Linked DNA regions of Homo sapiens: regions 1 and 3 are each linked to region 2. The links are contacts of gene promoters, found by promoter capture Hi-C in blood cells and fetal thymus (Javierre and others, 2016). All regions are on one chromosome and are shown on one strand. Each heading gives the region's core, a stretch centred on a gene start or on the middle of the fragment in contact. The rest is flanking DNA. Distances are from core to core; before and after follow the strand shown.

What was found. Contacts are between HindIII fragments. The CHiCAGO score rates a contact against its expected background, and 5 or more counts as called.
Region 1: a fragment that was not itself captured here is called in contact with the fragment with the promoter of GTF2A1 in region 2 in 1 of 17 cell types (M2 macrophages); the score reaches 10.7 in M2 macrophages.
Region 3: a contact is called between a fragment that was not itself captured here and the fragment with the promoter of GTF2A1 in region 2, in 1 of 17 cell types (endothelial precursors). The highest score is 7.0, in endothelial precursors.

What each region holds. Positions count from the first base shown.
Region 1 is chr14:79,028,749-79,031,448 of GRCh38, forward strand. All of the region lies in intron 15 of NRXN3 (neurexin 3), which reads left to right. Among named protein-coding and RNA genes, the nearest start is that of NRXN3-AS1, 45 kb to the right of the region's middle. The HindIII fragment of the contact is 4,313 bases long and covers 1-2,700 here.
Region 2 is chr14:81,219,552-81,222,251 of GRCh38, forward strand. GTF2A1 (general transcription factor IIA subunit 1) reads right to left here and starts at 1,408. Exons shown (of 9, transcript NM_015859.4): 1 at 938-1,408. The coding sequence starts at 967. GTF2A1-AS1 (GTF2A1 antisense RNA 1) reads left to right here and starts at 1,667. Exons shown (of 2, transcript NR_135252.1): 1 at 1,667-1,974; 2 at 2,088-2,700. RefSeq lists enhancers at 1-130, 3-72, 113-202 and silencers at 543-662, 1,193-1,242, 1,273-1,572. The HindIII fragment of the contact is 3,079 bases long and covers 1-2,401 here.
Region 3 is chr14:78,915,557-78,918,256 of GRCh38, forward strand. All of the region lies in intron 10 of NRXN3 (neurexin 3), which reads left to right. Among named protein-coding and RNA genes, the nearest start is that of NRXN3-AS1, 160 kb to the right of the region's middle. The HindIII fragment of the contact is 844 bases long and covers 868-1,711 here.

The sequences.
Region 1 (2,700 bases), core at 79-2,578, 2.2 Mb before region 2:
TTCAGGGAAATGAGAAGAGCATGGAGAGGACTTTTGAATTAATCCATTGATCCACGAGTTACCATAGCCTCCGTGCTGCATACAGAAGGTACCATGAAGGGGTATAGTTCTTTTGCTCTTTTCTCACTGCCTGATCCATTCTAAATGTAACTCTTGTTCCAGACCAAGTGCAGAAATCTTTACAGAGAGAAAGCATTGGGATGGGGATGAGGCTATGCTCAGCCAGTCTGGGAGATCTCTAGGGGAAAATGTCATAGGAAAAAATAGTGATAAATATGCTTAAAAGAAGGCAAGGAAGAAAGCAAGGAAGGAAGAAATAAAGAAAAAGAGAGAGAGGAAGAAAGAGAGAATGAAAAGAAGGGGGTTGGGAGGGAGGAAATAAAAGAAAAAAGAATGGAAAGGAAGAAAGGAAAGAGAGAGGAAATATGGTATATCAGTTATTCTGCATGATATGTTTGAGTTGAGTTTGTGGTGGTTACTTGCCCCAGGGTATCAAAAGAAGTCTCCAATTAATTTGTAGCCAGTGTAACCATATAGCATCTATTTGCTTAGTTTTCAATAATAATAATACTGGTTCTGATTAAATAAAGCATATTGTCAAACTTATTATTTGCAAACATATTACTGTTGTAACTGGTAATTGCTCAGATCTCTTTCGGTTCCTGCCCCGACACCCAAAAGTCAAGAGGGTGGAAGGTGACCCTTTCTAAGACTTTGACATGGAAATTCTTTATTCTGTTTCAGGAATGGCAAATTCCAGTTTACAGATGGATGGAAAAGATTTCTTCCTTGTGATAATAGAATGCAGGACAGTATTTCTCAATAGCCATGCCAATGACATTTTTTGACTGGTTAATTCTTTGAGGGGATTGTACTATGCATTATAGGATATTTAACAGCATCCCTAGCCTCTACACAGTAGCTGCCAGTAGTAGCCTCCCCAACACTAATTGTCACAATAAAAATATCTCCAGATGTTGCCAAATACCCCTTGTAGAGGCCCAAAAATGCCCCTTGGAGAGGGCTATAATTGACATTTTTGACCGGATAATTCTTTGGGGCAATTGTATGGTGCATTATGGTTTGTTTGTTTGTTTGTTTATTTATTTATTTATAAAACAGGGACTCATTTTTTTCACCCAGGCCTGAGTGCATTGGCATGATCTCAGTTCACTGCAACCTCTGCCTCTGAGGCTTAATTGATCCTACTGTCTTAGCCCCCCCAAGTAGCTGGGACTACAGGCATGACCACTGTGCCCGTCTAATTTTTTTTCTTCTTTTTTTTTTTCTTTCTTTCTTTCTTTTTTTTTTTTTGTAGAAACAGGGTTTCACCATGTTGCTCAAGCTGGTCTTGAACTCCTGAGCTCAAGCGACCCACCTGCCTCAGCCTCCCAAAGAATAGAATTGCAGGTGTGAGCCACCACGCCTGGCCCATTATAGAACATTTAGCAGCATTCTTAGCCTCTACATAGTAGATGCCAGTAGTAGCCCCCCCAACATAATTGTCACAATAAAAAAATCTCTAAACATTGCCAAATGTCTTTTGGAGAGGGCCACAATTGTTCCCAGTTGAGAATCACTTCTTCAGGATAGACTGTTGTTAAACCATTGATTCAGATTCCCAGGGAAAGACTGGACACTCAGCAGCCGAGCATCCTGCTGACCCCCAGAACCCTGCCTTGACACCTGCTCACAAACCCCTCCTCTCCACCCTCAAGGGCAAGGTGTAATTTAGCTGCAGCCTTTTCCCAAATGCCTGTAGCTTCTACAATTCAATCTTTTTTATTTGTAAGTATCTTTGCAGTTTTCTACTTTCAAAAGACTCTTAGTGATTTCTAATACCTCAAATTGTACAGGTACATGGCTTTTTGTCTCTTTCTCTGTGTCTTTTTTTTTTTTTTTTTTTTTTTAGCTTTTCATTGTAGAGGTTCCTACTTTTTATTTTTTCTTTCCATGTTTATTGCTTTTGTGTCTCTGTCTTCCTGATTTCATTTTGGTGTGGAAACTGTCTTTCTCTGCTATTATCAATATCTTACTACCTAGATCTCAATTTCATTTTATGGTTTAGCCTTTTGGTGTTTATCTCCCCAGTCGCTATCATCCTTTTAATGACTATTTGTGTTTCTGGGTCTTTTTTCGTGTGGCAGCTTGTCTTTTGGACTGCCTCTCTCTGTTTGTATCTTTCCAGCTATTTTTTATAGTCTCCTCCTACTTTTGGAGAATAGCGATATGTTGTTATGACATTTCTATTTGTGACTGCCTTTTTCCTCTATTGACTTCCCTTCCCCTTTCTGCCTTTCTTTTGAAAATGGCCCATCTGGATTAAGTTTCTATCAAGATCTCTTTCTATAAGCAGGATTTTTCTCAGGTATGTAATGGAAACCTTTTACTTCTGTTGAATGGTAATCCTAAGGGGAGGTCAGGGAATGGACTTTTCAGTTAACTGCTCAGAGGCAATTGTTTGTTTTACTTTATATAATCGAACTTTTATAAAACTTAGAATATTAAATCCAGCAAGGTTAAATATTTAGCCTTTTGTTAACTTTGTAAAATAAAAATAGAACTTAAATGATTCATTATAAAGCAATTATCTTAGAAAATGAATAGGTAACACATTATTAGAATCAATTTGTTCTCAAAGCTATGAGAAATAAAATCAATAATTTTTAGAGATAGATAAAGTGTTTTAGGTAATGTTTG
Region 2 (2,700 bases), core at 158-2,657:
TAGACCCGAGTCGCCAACGGTACGGTGTCGGGCGGCCGCGGGCTGGTCTGCGGCATTTGGGACCGGGCAAAAAACGTGTTTTATTGTCATCATAAAAATAAGAGTTGGGTGGACTAGTGATCACACTGCGTTGGTGACTGAAAAGGTTATTTATGTGACTGCTTTTTGCAAACCTACGTGATCGCAAGTAACAAAAAGGGACCAACGGGAAGAAGTAGGTAAATTTCAAGGCGAAAGCGGGGACACTTGGACCACTGCAGGCTTTTTTTGTTTGTTTTGGTGCTTCTGCTAGGCGAAGATACGATGGGGGTCTTCCCCTTCGCCATTTTACCCATTCGGAAGGAACTGAGATAAGTGCTTTTCAACCAACCTTCGTCCTTTTTTTAAACATAAAATGGCCTCAGAGAAGGTTCCCAAAGCACAGCCGCCAAAAACAACCTAAGAAACCCCCAAAGTAACCATTAATCTTCCACTGCATTAAAGTGGATCACGATGGGTCTCGGGGGTTCGCCCGATTCCCCACACACAGTTTTTGTTCTGTAGCCACTCGGGGAGCCCTCGTCAAGCCAGCGCGGACGGGCCCCTCGGGGGGAAGCGGCGGCTCCCCTCCCGCCCTCCCTCCCGGCGGCCGGGTTCTGGGGCCGGGGCTGCGCGCCCGACCGGGCCCAACCGCCTCCGCGGCCCGGCCCGGCCCGCGGCGGCCCCAGGCCCCACCGGCGCCCCCGCCCTCCCCGCGCCGCGAGCCCTCGGCGCCCCCCCGCGCCCGCCGCCCGGCGCTCCGGCCCGATCCGCCCGAGGCGGGAAGCGGCGGCGGCGGCGGCCGCGCGGGCGGCTGAAGAGTCGAGGCCGGGAGTCGCCGCCGTCCCCGCCCCCGCCCGGTCCGGCCGTTGCTGCAGCCTGAACGAAGCCCCCGCCGGCCACCGAACCACGTCCTTACCACGGTGTTTGTATTTGCCGAGTTCGCCATTTCCACACACAACACAAACAAGAGGGGGCAACCCCAAGAAAACAAGATAAAAACAAAACCAAAAAAAAAAAAACTATAACACCCGGAGGGTGACCCAAATCACCGCAAGATTGGGGAAAAAATTTTAAACAAAATCAATCCTGAAGGAGTAGGGGAGAGCGGAGAGAGGAGGAGGAGGGGGGCACTCCTCCCGCAGCTGAAAACCTCGAGAATCGCCTTAAAAAAAAAAAAAAAGCCACGACCCTTCAGGGGTCCGGGGGGCGTTGCCCGCTCCCCACCCCGCGCCAAGGAGGGAAACCACCACCGGTCACCGCTCCCTGCGCCGCCGCTGCCGCCACCGGCTGCAGCTCCAGCCGTCCGGTCCGCCCGCTTCTCTCCTTTATATAGCGAGCCAACAAGCTGCGCGAGCCACCACCGCCGCCGCCGCCGCCGCCGAGAGACAGGGTGAAGGGGGAGGGAGGGGCGGAAAGGGCGGGGGCAGAGGTGGGCGGGGCTGAGCGCGAGACACCGCGAGAGCCGCGTGCGCAGGCGCGCCGGGGCGGAGGCCGCCGGCGAGCCGCGTTGTCACGCGCCGTGGCGGGTACTGGACTGGCGGAGCCCGGGGAGTGAAGTAGTGAAATCGGACCTACGCCTCTCCAACGCTCGCGTGATCACGTGGTTGGCACCCAGGCGGAAGTCTGCGGCAGTTCTTTGCGGTGAAGAACTTGCAAAGCGTTGCTGGAAAAGACGGGAGTTCTACTGACACTCCAGTCCAAAGCTAGGTGGGACCGCCTCCTGTCGCACGTTTCCGCCTGGTCCCGCGCTTTAGGAGCTAGGAAATGTGACAGAGGCGGTGCCTACTGCCTCGCTAGGAATGGCCGCGGAGGAGGACTGGTCACGTGGCGTGGCTTCCGGCCTCTGGCGCGTTCCTATTCGGGAAGGTTTTAAATGCGGAGTCATCTCTTGATTTGTCAGCGAGGCTTTGACTGTGAGCTTCGCGGCGTTCGCGCCTCACCGCCTCACCGAGGGTGGGTCTTTCGCGCGCAGAATTGTGTAGGATTTTCCAAAGGGAGTAAAAGCCGATCGGGGCCTACTTTTAACATTCCACAATTAGTAACGTCTGATTCGTTTGTTTCCACAGTGGGTACGCTGCGAAGACTAGGCTTATGTTACCCAGAGGTTAGTCCTCTACTAGGCCACGTACTTTAAATAATTTATCACGCTAGTGGAAATGCGGGGTGGAAGAAAACCCCACCAGCCTTTGGATTGTAACAGCACAGTAACTTTCCCTGGTTTTTAAAAATATTGCCAAAATACTGCGACTCCATGTGGCCAACGTATAGTGACTGATCACTTTGAAATGCATGCCCTTGACCCACCAACTCGCATGGCCTCTCGCTATAAGAGAGCAAGCCGGCTGTGTTCCATGTTCAATTCAATAAGTGCAATTCAATAAGCTTTTGACTTGTTCTGCCCAAGCAAATCCTGCCTTTATATCGACCTTGCAAGCAGAACAGAGAATGCTGTTTGGAAGGCAGAATTCATAGTACCTAGTTTTCTTGTCCCTGGGAATTTTGAGGGACTTGAAATGTCGCGTGGATGAGTGAGGGAGTTTGTCTTCCAGAGACAAAGCAAAACGAAACGTCAAAGTTCTGTGCTGGTGAAACCAGATTTGAAGAATATCAAAGGCGTCTTACCAAAGAGGAAAAAAAATGCATCTTGCCAAGACTTGAAGAAAGGGATTAGAGAAACCA
Region 3 (2,700 bases), core at 40-2,539, 2.3 Mb before region 2:
AGAAGCCCACAGTCAAATGGAAAATATATAGAAATAAATAGCACTGTAATGTGATAGGCAGACAGGATTGCTTAATTCTCACTGAAAGATTCAGATCAGAGTTACCCTCTGTGCAGCTTCTTGATGGATGATGGGGAGGGCCAGCATCTGGGGTTGGAGAAAAGAAAGGTGGGTCTCAGGGAAGAAATTCCATGTGCCAAGATACAGAGGGGTAAAATTATGTGGCCTTTTCAGTATATGAAAGCAGTGATTCACAGAACTTAGATGATACACCTTGACAAGATACTCAAGACTCCCAAGACAAGACACTCAAGAGAGTGTCTTGAAAATAGAGTCTTTAAGGAGTAATTCAATTAAAATTATGGCATTAGTGCAGACTGTAATTCAATACGACTGGTGTCTTTGTAAGAAGAGAATGTCCCTATAAGAAGATACTCAAGAATTCCAAGATAAGACACTCTTGTGTCTTGGGAGAAATTCTCATCTTGGGAGTCTTGAGTGTCTTGTCCAGGTGTATCATCTAGTACAGAAAATAGCTCAAAAATTGTGATAGCCTTGAGAATATATTTTACATTACTTACTGTCGAAACTGGGACTGTTTTTATCACAAAAAGGGGCACTATTAATAATTACACTGGAATGGGTATAAATTAAAGCAGTCTGGGGAAACCCAAACATATGGTCAACCTAATGATACCTGTTTTCCTGCATAAAGGGGTTATAATTGTACTAATTTATGGTGCAAACTGGGTGCTAAAGCTAGTGATGAGTTTCTCTGCTAGAAAAATGTTCCAAAGAAATAAACCAAGACAGTTAATGCAGAGTTTTGGTAGAAGGGATAACTACTTTTAGATGGTAGGTCACAGAAGCTTGTCCGAGGTGAGGACTTTGGGCTGAGTCCTGAATACAAACAGCCAGCTATGGGAAGCTCCATGGCAGGAGTGCTCCAGGGAGAGGGAATCCCAAAAGCCCTTTGTGGGAGTCCTTCTGTTAGAGAAGACCTGTTTGGATGGAGAATACAAAACCAGGGGGGCTTGGGAGATGAGGTCCGAGACATAAGGAGAGGCTAGTTCATGTTCAGCCATGTACATGTGGTGGGGAATTTGAGTTTTATTCTAATTGGTGGAAGCACAGCAGGTGATAGAGCATACCTCACGTACTAGTTTACAAGGGCTGCCTTCACAAAGTACCCTGGACTGGGTGACTTAAACAATAGAAATTTATTTCCTCGCAGTTCTGCAGGGTGGACCTCCCAAATCAAGGTCCTGGCTGAGTTGGTGCCTTTTGAGGGCTGTGAGAGAAGGATCTGTTCCAGAACTTTCTTCTTGGCTTTTAGATGGCTGTCTTCTCCCTGTTTCTTTACATTGTCTTCCTGCTGAACATGTCTGTGTCCAAGTTTCCTCTTCTTATAAGGACGCCAGTCATATTGGACTAGGGTCCGCCCTCATGCCATAATTTTAATTGAATTACTTCTTAAAGACCCTATCTTCAAATATGGTAAGCCTCTGTGGTATTGGGGTTTAGATTTCAACATACGAGTGTTTGGAGGGACAGAATTCAGCCCACAACACCTCATTAAGCCTGGAAGAGACCGTAAGAATATTCGATTAACTGGATAAGAAGCACTTAAACCCAATTTCTAAGAAAAGAGGGATAAAAAGGTATACTGTTTCCAGGTATAGTATGAAGGTCATGATATAAAACAGAAAGAAGCTTTTTAGAAGGGAACAAAAAACACTGGGGCTTACTTCAGGAGGGATGGTAGAAGGAGAAAGAGGAGCAGAAAAAATAACTATTGGATACTAGGGTTATTACCTTGGTGATTAACTGATCTGTGCAACAAATCCTATGATAGGAGTTCACCTATACAACAGACCTGCACATGTACCCTTAAACCGAAAATTAAAGTTAAAAAAAGGAAAGAAGCCTTATACAGAGGACTATATATAGCCTTATATAAAGGACTATATTAAGAATTCTTGTGAGAAGTCATTATTTAGGTGTCAGGCATCTATAGCCATTTAAACAGAGTCTGTGTGTAACAGTCTTGAGCTGCTGATGAAAGAAGGTGTAGAAGAGTGTTGGTGCCAAGATCTGGAGTGGAGTGGTAGGATCCTGACCTGGAGCACCCAGGAATGACTGTCCTTTGTGCACAGGTGATAGACAAAACTGGGGGAATGAGGAGTTGAACATGGAGGTATATGAGGAAGGCTCATCCGCTCTTCAGAAATCCAGAAACCTAAGTGTGAAAACACAGATTTGAGGGCCTCCACCTGACTTGGTGGGATGCTCTTCATAGGAGATATTCTCCTAATGTACATTACAAAGTCAATCTAGGAGTAATGTAAAAGTGATAGTTATCTTAAACAACCTGAATATTTTCTAGATATGTGATTTTGCAAAAATAAAAAAAATAAAAAAATAAAAAAATGAAAAAAAAAAAAAAAGGCCAGGCATGGTAGCTCACGCCTGTAATCCCAGCACTTTGGGAGGCCAAGGCAGGCAGATCACCTGAGGTGGAGAGTTCAAGACAAGCCTGACAAACATGGAGAAACCTCGTCTCTACTAAAAATACAAAATTAGCCGGGCGTGGTGGCGCATGCCCGTAATCCCAGCTATTCAGGAGGCTGAGGCGGGAGAATCGCTTGAACCTGGGAGGCAGAGGTTGCAGTAGGCCGAGATCACGCCATTGCACTCCAG